2 separate regions of the Homo sapiens genome follow, and region 1 is linked to region 2. The links are contacts of gene promoters, found by promoter capture Hi-C in blood cells and fetal thymus (Javierre and others, 2016). All regions are on one chromosome and are shown on one strand. The core of a region is centred on a gene start or on the middle of the fragment in contact, and the rest is flanking DNA. Distances in the headings are between cores, read along the strand shown.

Evidence for each region. The method cuts DNA at HindIII sites, captures the fragments that hold promoters and counts their contacts. A CHiCAGO score of 5 or more calls a contact.
Region 1: a fragment that was not itself captured here is called in contact with the fragment with the promoter of CCNQ in region 2 in 2 of 17 cell types (M2 macrophages and M1 macrophages); the score reaches 6.7 in M2 macrophages.

What each region holds. Positions count from the first base shown.
Region 1 is chrX:153,006,969-153,012,800 of GRCh38, reverse strand. No RefSeq gene overlaps it. Among named protein-coding and RNA genes, the nearest start is that of PNMA5, 16 kb to the right of the region's middle. The HindIII fragment of the contact is 1,156 bases long and covers 718-1,873 here.
Region 2 is chrX:153,595,684-153,601,799 of GRCh38, reverse strand. It overlaps CCNQ (cyclin Q), which reads left to right and starts at 2,661. Exons shown (of 5, transcript NM_152274.5): 1 at 2,661-2,838; 2 at 5,613-5,796. The coding sequence starts at 2,727. LOC105373383 (a long non-coding RNA gene) reads right to left here and starts at 2,460. Exons shown (of 1, transcript NR_131982.1): 1 at 1,907-2,460. RefSeq lists enhancers at 149-648, 649-1,150 and silencers at 2,291-2,430, 2,531-2,580, 2,591-2,950. The HindIII fragment of the contact is 8,000 bases long and covers 1-3,949 here.

The DNA.
Region 1 (5,832 bases), core at 46-2,545, 590 kb after region 2:
ACTTATGGTCACCTGGGATTCTATTTTGTGATATCTAGTGTTTTAAACCTTTGATATTTGACAAGCTTCCCAAAATCAAATTATAAAATATGTCTTTTTCTGACCTAATTAATCTTTTAGATATTAGGTCACCTAAAGTCCAAAAGTGACTTTTGGCTTATTTGGTATAAAAGTCATACAGGAAGCATTGTCAAATATGAAATGGTGTTTGGCCTTCTTTGGGCTGTGTTTGTATAAATATGTTATTGGCATGTATTCCAAAATTATGGAAGCTCCTATAATTCTGATATAACTTAGTGTGTGTTATCAATAGTTATAATTGCTATGTAAAATTGTTGTATACCACAGAGGTAATCAAAATTTTTTTGTCCATTGTGGCTTTAATAGTGGCTGTCCTAAAATTTTGTCATCCACAGACAATTGTTATCTTGTTTTAATACTCTTCAGAAGGTGGTTTTATAATCACCTATAGAACCCTAACAAGTGTTATTAAATGCAGGTTTTCTGATAACTTTGGAGAGTGTGACATTCAGATAGAGGAAAAACTTTCAGGACTCATGGACAGCTGAAATGTTCATGAATATCAAACAGGACAGGAGCTAACTGCATGTATTGCGCTAATAGAAGTTTGAAGTAATCTTGGCTGTTTGCTTAAAATGTTGCTGATCCTTTGTTTTGTTTTCCAGAGTCAAGGAAACTTTTGAGCTATTTAAAGCTTTTAACAATTAAGTAAAGTATACACCTATGAACACAATTTGGAGCATATGGGGAAACTGGTTATTTTACCAAGGCTTTGACGAGAATAGGGTGCTTTCCTTTAAGGAAAAAAACTTGACTTATAGAGCCAATAAAAGCCCCTTGGGAAAACTGGCCTCATAGGTTGTCTATACAGTCCCTGTACAGGGTTCCTGACCCGTGGTAAGTAAAGCATGTCACTTTCTCACAGGCCCAGGTGCCCCCAGTTATCTTAGGACCTCAAGAGAAGAGGAATTTACCCAACTCGTAAGTATTTGAGAGTATAAACCCACAGCTGGGCTTGGCTTTAAAAAAAAAAAAAGTCTTCAGGGCTCACGCCTATAATCCCAGCACTTTTGGAGGCAGAGGCGGAGGCGGGTAGATCACGGGGTCAGGAGTTCAAGACCTGCCTGGCCAAGATGGTGAAACCCCATCTCTACTAAAAATACAAAAAATTAGCTGGGTGTGGTGGCAGGCACCTGTAATCCCAGCTACTTGGGAGGCTGAGGCGGAGAATTGCTTGAACCCGGGAGGGGAGGTTGCAGTGAGCCAAGATCATGCCACTGCACTCCAGCCTGGGTGACAGAGCGAGACTCTGTCAAAAAAAAATGGAAAAAAAGTCTTATCTGAGATTCTTTCGATGGAACAGAGTTCCATCAAAGCTAATTTAAAAATAATTATTCTTGCTGCACTTTATATGAATGATCAGGCCAAGTATAAGAAAGTAAATTGGTCTTACCATGATTTGTTTTTAATAAAAATGGGAGACTGGAGATAGAAAAACTCTTTCGAACACTGTGGTACACATGTTAATAGATTCTAGTCTCATCAGTTGTTCTGGGACTTTTTTCTTCAATTTAGACTAACCCTGCTTATTCCTGTGAACAAACCAGTGACCTCTGACTGCTATTCAGAAGAAAGAAGAGGGATGGGTGATGTAAAAATCTGGATCTGTATTCTAATTCTGGGCACATATTGGGATGGGCTAGCAACCCCATATCAACTTGGTTCCAACAATTGTCCAGTTCATGGAAAGCCTTTTCTAATTTAATTTACTAGAGATAATTTTACTTATTTTGCTTTCCTGTTGTTGAATATATTGCTGTTATAGTCTTTGTGTAGGAATGCAGGACAAGCTTACTGAATGTTTCCCTAAACTGAACACTTATTAATCTTCCAGATATCACCTTTTGTTGAAACTCAAGAGTTATGAATGGCCTTCAACATACCGACACTTTCTAACCGAACTCCTCTCTACCCTGAATGCAAGAGACCCAGTAGTTAGGTAGGAATATCATCTCCCCTGTTCAGCATAAAGAAGTTACAGAAGATGGATTTTCATCCCTTTGCAACCCTTAGGATTAAGGGTTCTCTTGTAAAAGGGAGCAGGGAAATGTCAGAGGCATTTGAACCAAAACAACTCCATCTTGAATAGGGGCTGGGTAAAATGAGGCTGAGACCTACTGGGCTGCATTCCCAGATGGTTAAACATTCTAAGTCACAGGATGAGACAGGAGGTCAGCACAAGATACAGGTCATAAAGACCTTGCTGATAAAACAGGTTGCAGTAAAGAAGCTGGCCCAAACCCACCAAAAACAAGATGGTGATGAGAGTGACTTCTGGTCATTCTCACTGCTACACTCCTGCCAGCGCCATGACAGTTTACAAATGCCATGGTGATGTCAGGAAGTTACCCTATATGGTCTAAAAAGGGGAGGCATGAATAATTCACTCCTTGTTTAGCATATCATCAAGAAATAACCATAAAAATGAGCAACCAGCAGCCCTTGGGGCTGCTCTGTCTGTGGAGTAGCAATTCTTTTATTCTTTTACTTTTCTAATAAACTTGCCTTCATTTAAAAAGAAAAGAAGAAATTAAACCATTGGTTAATTATGGTGAAATCAATAGGCTCAGAACAGTTCATAACCTTAGAGTATAGAGCAAATCCCACACCCCTCCACAAAGGAGTTAGAAAGAAGCAGGGAACTGAAGATGTAGGGTCCAGGATTGCTCCGTTTGCTTGATAGGTCACTCAAGAGGGCCTTTCATTATATTCTATGGTAAAATTGGGAACAGCTGTAAAGTTAGTTACAGGCATGATTAAAGGATCAGTATGGTCATGAAACCAAAACAGTTTGGGATGACATACACGACAATCAGTTAAATTTACTGAAGAGGCCAGAGATTAGGAAAATCTAACCATAGAGTTATGTCTCTATGTGAAACAGAAATCATGTTTACTGGTTCCTAGAGGGGCAATTAGAATGATATAGCAAGTAACATATGCTATATGCCACACACTTTTAAACAACCAGATAGTGCAAAAATTCACTATCACAAGGACAGTTCCAAGGGCCATGAGGCTAAACCATTCATGAGAAAACCACCCTCATGATCCAATCACCTCCCACCAGGCCCCACCTCTGACACTGAGAATTACAATTCAACATGAGATTTGGGTGAGGACACAGATCCAAATCATATCAGCATTTAAAGATAGATCCAAAGATTGTACATACCTGACAGTGTCCAACTCTTTGATTTTTAAATCACTTATCTGTTTACCTTGTGGCTCAGAATATAGACAGGGTCTCCCATACAAGATTTCATAAGGGCTTAATTGAAGCCCGCTTCTAGGGGCCACTCTAATCCTAAGCAGTGCAACTGGCAATACCTTGTCCCATGTCCGATTTGTTTCCTGACGAATTTTTGCAACAGTGTTTTTTTTAGGGTGTGGTTCATCTTTTCAGTCTTTCCAATGGACTAGGGTTGCCAAGAGGCATGTAATTTAATTTCCAGCTGTTTGGACACCTCCTAGGTTATCTTGGCAATAAAGGCACTCCTATTATCGCTCTGGATGGTGAATTGCAACCCAAATCTGAGGATAATTTCCTCCATTAAGATTCTTACTATTTCTGAAGCCCTCTCAGTGTGGCAGGAAAAGCCTTCCACCTATCCAATAAATAAATAAATGTATTACTAACAACTATCTAAAATTCCCTTTGGCTCTTGGCATTACAGTAAAATCTGTTTGCCAATTTTCTCCTAGCCCATTGCCTCTTGCATGTATTCCCTTTGGTGTGGATGAACCCGATTTTGGATTATTCTTGGAACAGATTAAACATTTCTATATGACCTTCTATATAATCTTTTGCATATTAGGACCTATGATGCAATTCTGAATCCACCTAAGTGTGGCATCCCTTCCATAGTGGGTACTCAGATGAAGCAAACTAATTATTTTTTCCATTAAAATCTCAAGGATCAGAGCTGGACATGGTGGCTCACGCCTGTAATCCCAGCACTTTGGGAGGCCGAGGTGGGCAAATAGCTTGAGCCCAAGAAGTTTGAGACCAGCCTGGGCAAAATGGCAAAACCCTGTCTGTAAAAAAAATTTTTTTTTAAAACACAAAAGTTAGCTAGGCGTGGTGGTACATGCCTGTAGTTCCAGCTACTTGAGAAGCTGAGGTGGAAGGAACACCTGAGCCTGGGGAGGTTGAGGCTGCAGTGAGCTGTGATTGTGCCACTGAACTCCAGCCTGGGTGACAGAGTGAGACTCTGTCTCAAAAAAAAAGAAAAAAAATATCAGGGATCAGTACTGTTCCTTGCTGGCTTATAAACCAGGAGTTGGGTTTTAGGACCACTACACTGAAACCCTACCCTTGGGTTCCTCTTAAACCTTCCAGAGAATATGTTGGACAAAACAGGGTCAAGTCAATCTGTGAGACTAGGGCCATAATAGTGGAAGTTTTGGTCCAGGCTGCTAACTGGTCTGCTTTATTTGATTTCCATGAGATATTAAACAGTTTGATTTTTCGTGGCTCAGGCAATGTATGATTGCTGACAGAGCAGGAGCATCGCCATCTTGAACAAGCTCCTCATTCTAATGTTCACCTTAATAAAAAAGCTGCCTAAATCTAAAGGGCATCAGCCTAATGGCTAATGTCAGCATGACCATAAAACACAAATAACATCTCCAACAAGAAACATCCAAACTCCTCCTTGACCAGAGACATGCTAGCCCTGAGATAACCCCCCTCTGGGCCCCAGAAAGATGTCTGCCCCAAGATAACTTCCCCTCCTCCCAGAGGGATTCCAACCCTTCCATAAACTTCTCCACACACCTAAACATTCCAAGCTTCTGATAAGCCACCTCACCGTAAAACCAATATATACTCTTAGTCTGTAAGAGAAAGTGCTCTTGACCAAAATTGGCCAGGAGCACCTCTCAGGTTTTATCTAAAGAAAACCTGTCTTTAACTGTCAGCCACGTTTCATGTTTGTTTCCTCTTTCTTTAATTCTTACAATTGCCACTTCTTTAGGTTCTAACACCATTTTTAGTAATTTTAAAATTTCCTGCACATGTTTGAGTCCTTTTTTTCCCAATGTTAATAATAGCCCTCTTTCTTCCCAAATAGCCCCATGTGCATGCACCATAGAAGAGTTCTTTGAATCAGTGTAAATGTTTATCTTCTTAATTTTTCCTCAGTGAAGAGCACGGTTGAGGCATTCTGGGCTGACGTTACCTGGTGGCAGTGCTTCAGCTTCTTATAATATCTTGCAAAATTATCACTGCATATCCCACTTTCCAGTTTCCCTGGTCCATGAAGCTGCTTATATCCGTGGACATTTATAGATCTGTTTTTCCCAAGGGCACACCTGTTTGTCAGAGTGGCTGGAATAGACTTGTTCAATAATTTGTAAACAGTTATGCCTAGGTTCCACTGATGGGTTTGGAAACAGAGTCGTGGGGTTTAAGGTGGACCGTTTTTAGCATCACATTAGGATTATCCTAGAAAATTCCTTGGTTTTTTTTCCACATCTGGCCTGAAGTAAACCAATAACCACCTTTCTACTCTAATAATGGTAACACACAATGTGGGGTATGCAAGATTGTGGACTGCCCCCAAGGTGAATTTTTCAGCTTCTTGCAGTAAGTTACAGGTGGTGGTCACTGCCCTATGGCACACTGGCTACCCCTGGGTTATGATGTCCAAAGTGTCTGAAAAGTACTATACAGGATGCTTGGTGTCTCCTAGATTTTGGGTAAACACTTGCAACCATATTCCTTGTCTTTTGTGCACAAATAGATCC
Region 2 (6,116 bases), core at 1,412-3,911:
GAGCCTGGGGTTGAGAACCAGGCTTCAGCCCTCAAGGAACTCACCATCTGAGCCGGGGTGATGAGACGGGGGATGCCACCTTTGGGACACTGGGGACAGGCTTGCCAGTGGGAGAGGAGGTGCTGCCTAAAGGTTTGCTGGCTCCAGTTGGTGGCTAGTGAATTATTCATTCATCAACCACTGCGCCGAGGTGACCCAGGGCTTTAAAATTCATGTGTTCATTGAGTCATTCTCTCGGCTCACATTCCCAGGCACCTTTTACTTGCTGAGCCCGGACTCTTTTCAGCACATAAGGCCCAGAGGAGAAGGAGGAGTTGTGCCTAGAGGATGGGCGGGCCACCAGGGGCCAGAGGGAAGCACTGTTTGAATTGGGGTGTTCACATATGTGCACGTGTGCATGTGTGTATGTGGGGGGGGGATGTGTGATGCATGTGTGTGCGTGTGCATGGGGGTGTGTGTTAGTGTGCACAGATGTGGTGGTGGGGGAAGCTGAGAGGCAGCAGCCTGATCCCCCAAGGCCCATAGCTGCTTTAGGGAACATGGGCTTGAGCCTTCCAGATCTAGCTGTGGCTGGTCCAGCCCAGGGCACTGTCTGGGGGAACACAGGACCTGGCCTCCACCAACGGGGCTGAGGGGAGGTGGGCCCTCTGGGCATTGCCTAGGTTTCAGCCTTGGGCTGGGGAAGAGGGTGGGGCTGCTCACAGCTTGCAGACAGACACGGTGCTCAAGGCGTGGCAGGTGTCAGCAGCACAGGGAGCTGGGGACCCTGAGTCAGTCCACACACGCACACATATGCACACACACGTGCACACCCGCGCACATACAGACAAGAGCAAGCTGGGTGATGGAAGTGGAGTGGTAATTCCTTCACCAGGCAGAATACGTGCAGAGACGTTCAGCCAGGAGACCATAACCTTTGGGGGACCTGCCGAAGGTCTCTGCCATGAGGCAAAGTGGTGAGATCCGAGGCTGGTCAGTTGATAGGGTGACTCCACAAGGACCAGCATGTGAGGTCAAGGCCTCACATTTTCTCCTGAAGGTGAAGGGACTCCGGAGGGTGTTAGGCAGGGCAGGACCTGTTCAGCCTCGCCTTTTAGAAAGCTCGCTCTGGCGGCTGGTATTGTGGGGTGAATGCCAGCCCCCAAAAGGTGTGTCCGTGTCCTAATCCCTGTTACTGTGACCTTATTTAGCAGAAGGGCCTTTGCAAGATGTAATGAAAATAAGGATGTCAAGATGAGCTCCTCCTGGATTATCTAGGTAGGCCCTAATCCAGTGACAGGTGTGCTTATAAGAGACAGACGAGAAGACAGGGAGAAGGCCATGTAGAGACGGAGGCACAGATTGGAGTGATGGGGCCACAAGCCCAGGAAGAACTCAGGCTGCAGAAGCTGGAAGAGCAAGGAAGAACTGATCCTCTGCCAGAGCCTTTGAGGGAGCAAAGCCCTAGTGTCACCTCCATTTCAGGTGTCTGGCCTCCAGAATTGAGAGAGGATATACTTCTGCTGTTTTTAGCAACCCAATTTGTGGTCATTTGTTACAGCAGCCCCAGGAAACTAACCCAGCTGGGATGGAGAGAGGACTTGGGGAGGCTGGTGGAGGCAGGAAGTGCTGAGGAAGGAGAATGAGGCCGGACTGGGTGTGTGGGGTGGGGGTAAGAGGTGGAGACTTCCACACCATCAGGAGATCAAGGCGCCTGGGCAGAAGGGTTTAGGGAGCAGTAGCTTTTTCCTCTCCATATTGCCAGCTGTCTGAAATTGTAGCAATGATCTGAATGTATCAGAATGACTCCAGTGACTGTCACTAACTTGGGAGTGAGTACCTTTGGGGTTCTATGTCCCTAAAGCCTGATGCACCATTTCCTGCTTGTGGAAGACGCGAATGAAAAATGAGATGGTAAATACCTGAGTTCGATATTCAGCATTCATTCAGCAAACATTTATTAGGCTCCTACTGTGCGTCGCGCTGGAAAGGCAAGCAGAAGCTAGATTCCCAATCGATCCCGGGAGGCTGGACGATCCAGACACAAACACCGTTCATGCGTCTATTCGAAAAGGCCCTCTTGGAATTTTGTGCACAGCATTTCCTTGGGGTGTCGATGGATCGGGGTCTGCAAACATTAGCACCTTTTCCGGTGGCCGCTGTCTTCTCAGACCTCAGACACCGGCGCCTCCCCGTGAACTCCCGCAGGCGTCCCTAGCCCAGGGCTTGGCGGGCGCTGCCGGTTGTACCTGGCCTAAGCCACGCTGGGCCGACAGCCCGGGGCGACACCCCCTTCGGACGGCGGGGATTTGCGGCTCGGGTGACCGGAGGTGCCCTCCCGCGGGTCTCGGAGCAGCTCCGCGGGCTCTCGCTCCGCGGGGAGGAGCCTGCGTCTCCCAGGGGCGGGGCTCGAGGCGCCTAGGGGCCGGTGGACACATACCAGCCGCCCCGTGGTGTCGGCCTCTGCGCCTGCGCCTGCGCCTGCGCGCGCGGCCAGGCAGCGTCTGTGGCGCAAGCGCGCGCTCACCCTTGGGCGAGGGCCCTGAGGGGCGGGGCGGGGCGGAGGAGCGGCGGGGCGGCGAGGGGCGGGGCGGGGCGGCGAGGGGCGGGGCGGGGCGGCGAGGGGCGGGGCGGGGCGGGGCCGGACGCGGCCGGGTGGGGCGGCAGCGCCCGCCGCGAGCACCTCCAGTTCTGCCGGCTTCTGCGCGCCGGGGCCGCCTCTCCTTCCGCCGGTGCCGCGGCGCCTCATGGAAGCCCCGGAGGGCGGCGGAGGGGGGCCTGCAGCGCGGGGCCCGGAGGGGCAGCCGGCGCCCGAAGCCAGGGTGCACTTCCGAGTGGCGAGGTTCATCATGGAGGCAGGTAACCGCGGCCGGGGGAGGCCAGGACAGGCGGCGCCGCGGCCCGCTTCGCGGAGCGGGCCCGGCTGGCCAGGCCGGCCTTCTGGAGTGCTCACCGTAGCAGAGGCCGGGAAGCCCTGCTCGGGGCTGAGGACCTCCGCCTTTGCGCCGCGCCCGGTGTGCTGAGCAGTGAGCCGCGAGGTATCCCCATGGCGTGGACCGGTGTGCAGGCCCTAGGAGAGGACGTGGCCGGGTTGGGCCTCCAGCGAGGCGGAGACCGGCCCGGGCGCCCGCAGCTCTGCGCAGTGCGCCACGCCTTCTGCCGGCACCCGCGGCCCTGCACTCCGGTAGACTTTATGGCGCTTAGTCGCGCGGAGCCTTTTGGAGAACGCTGTCCGAGGGTTCCTGTCACTCCGGGGACCTAGGCTGCTTGCAGCTCCTGTTCCGAACCCTGCCAGGACATCCACAGTAGTGTTGGGCTCCGCGCTTCCCAGGCGAGGTGATTAAGCTAAGATCTCTGTAGAAACATCGTTTCCATCCAGCCATCAACAGTATTTTTTTTTTTTTCGAGACGGAGTCTCGCTCTGTTGGCCAGGCTGGAGTGCAGTGGCGTGATCTCGGCTCACTGCAACCTCCGTCTCCCGGACTAAAGCAATTATCCTTCCTCACGCTTCCGAGTAGCTGGAATTACAGGTGTGTGCCACCGTACCCGGCTAATGTTTGTATTTTTAGTAGAGACGGGGTTTCACCATGTTGGCCAGGCTGGTCTTGAACTCCTGGCCTCAGGTGATCCAGTTGCCTCGCCCTCCCAAAGTGCTGGGATTACAGGCGTGAGCTACCTCGTCCGGCCCATCAACAGTATCTTGATAGGAGATACTGTTAGTTGGCGGGTAGTTATTTCCTACCTTTACTGCTTGGGGGAGAAGGGTTGGGCAGATGTGCTTTCTACCCAAGGTGGGCGGAGAGTCTGAGGACTGCTGCAGGACTGTTCATCCCAGTGATATGTAAATTTACTGTAATTTGCAAGAAGAGTTGCAAAGTTATTATTAGGGAAGGATGGCAGTGACACCTCATCTGCTACCGTCTGCTCGGAGGGTCCGTGTAAATTGGGGTTTGCTCTGTAAAACAAAGCTTGGAAGGTCATGTCAGTAACAGCACCTTATCTGGCATCTCCTGGAATGAGGGGTCCCAGGTAGGAATTGTCTTTATATAACAAGTTTAGACCTTCTGAGGGACTTCTTTATAAAATGTATTACACAATCCTTTGTCCTTTGTAGGAGGCTAAATATTGATTTCCCAAAGATGTCCCTATCCTAATCCCTGGAACCTGTGAATGTCATCTTATATAGCAAAAGAGATTTTGAAGATGTGATTAGAGACCTTAAGATGGGAGATCATCCTAGATTATCTGGGTGTAACCACACCCATCCTTATAAGGCAAAGGCAGGAGGAGTCACCGTCAGAGAAGGCCACGTGAGGACAGAAGCAGAGTTAGAAGCTTTGAAGATGGAGGAAGGGGCCAGCAACCAAGGAATGCAGCCCTCCTCTAGAAGCTGGAAAAGGCAAGGAAACATTCTCCCATGGAGCCTCCAGAAGGAGCCAGCCCTGCTTAGACGTTGATCTTAGCTTTCTAGGCTAGTTTTGGACTTCTGACTTCCAGGATCGGAGGAGTATAAATGTGTGTTGTTTAAGTGGCTGAATTTGTGGTGATTTGTTGCAGTAGCCCTAGGGAACTGATCTACCTTCTTAGGCAGAGGATGCTGACTGTCATTTCATGGTTGATTGTCGGTTGTTCTTCGCCTTTCTGTTTTGGCCTAGTGGATGTCATTTAACCTTGTCTTGTGAACCCTGGTGGTTGTGAATTTGTTTTGGTTCTGTGCACCAGGGCAGTGATTTTCTTAGGAGCCATTCAGGGATGGGCTGGGGATGGGCTTTAACCCCTAAGTAGAATCCACTGAATCCTGCTCTGGTGTTTTGAGTTTTGTTCACCTTAAAAATTTTTTTCTTTCTCTTTTTTGTAGAGACAGGGTCTCACTCTGTTGCCTAGGCTGGTCTCGAATTCCTGGGCTCAAGCAATCCTTCTGCCTCAGCCTCCCAAAGTGCTGGGATTACAGGCGTAAACCAGCATGCCCAGCCCACTTTTCAATGTGCTGGTGTCCTTCCCTGGTGCCTGGCTGTGGCCATAAACATTGCCTTTTCTCTGCAATGCAAGTGGTTACTCTTGGCAGTCACGCTGCTTGCTTTGCTCACCTCTTCTAACCTGTGGACTACGAAACCAGTGCTCAGTGTAATCTTTCACTGTGACTTCAGGACTTGTGGCACCCACGAGGCCGTTTCTTTTCTGTCGTCGTAGCTGTGGGGTGGGCGACTTCTAGCTAGCTGTTTGCTAAGGTGAACCCAGACACACAACAGCATATAGTCCTTTTCCAGGGTTTTGCAGAAGCTGCTATGCCAGTTGCTAACTGAGCGGTCCTCGGAACCCTTGTTTCCCAGAGCGTGGTCTATAGACCCCTGACATGGGCATGACCTGGGGCTTGTCAGAAGTGGAGAATCTCAGAGCCGCAGACCTACAAAAGGGGAAGTCTGCATTTGAACACCATCCCCAGGGGCTTGGGTCACCCACTAGAGTCTGAGAGCCCAGTAAGAGACCCAGCAGGAGCCACTGGCTCTGCTGGAAGTTCTTAGCCTTGTCCAAGTAGGGTTGTACCTGCTAGGGCCCATTCCAATGGCTCCCCTCACTGGAGCAGTGAGCCAGCGCTGGATTGAAGTCCTCTCTTGCCTGCTTTCTCTCCGCAGGTGTCAAGCTAGGGATGCGGTCCATTCCCATTGCCACTGCTTGCACCATTTACCATAAGTTCTTTTGCGAGACCAACCTGGACGCCTATGACCCTTACCTGATTGCCATGTCTTCAATTTACTTGGCCGGCAAAGTGGAAGAGCAGCACCTGCGGACTCGTGACATCATCAATGTGTCCAACAGGTAATGGCATTTGGCTGGGCTCCTGATCTCCACCCGGTGGGGGGGACGGGCAGGGAAGGCTCCTATGGGGCCCTGCCCACCAGGTGCCAGCAATGGAGCTTGGAAGGAAGTACCTGGATGGCCTTGAACCAGGCAGGGCCAGAAACAGTAGCAGCAAACGTGAGAAGGAGCCTGATGTCAGAGGCCAGTGGGGTCTGTGAGAGAAACGCTGGGCCAGATTATGGGGAGCCTCGAAAGCTGGATGGAGGGCAGAGGCGGGGCTTCAGCAGAGGGAGCTTGGAGAGGCATGTCAAAGAAGATTCTGTGGAAGTCTTAGACAG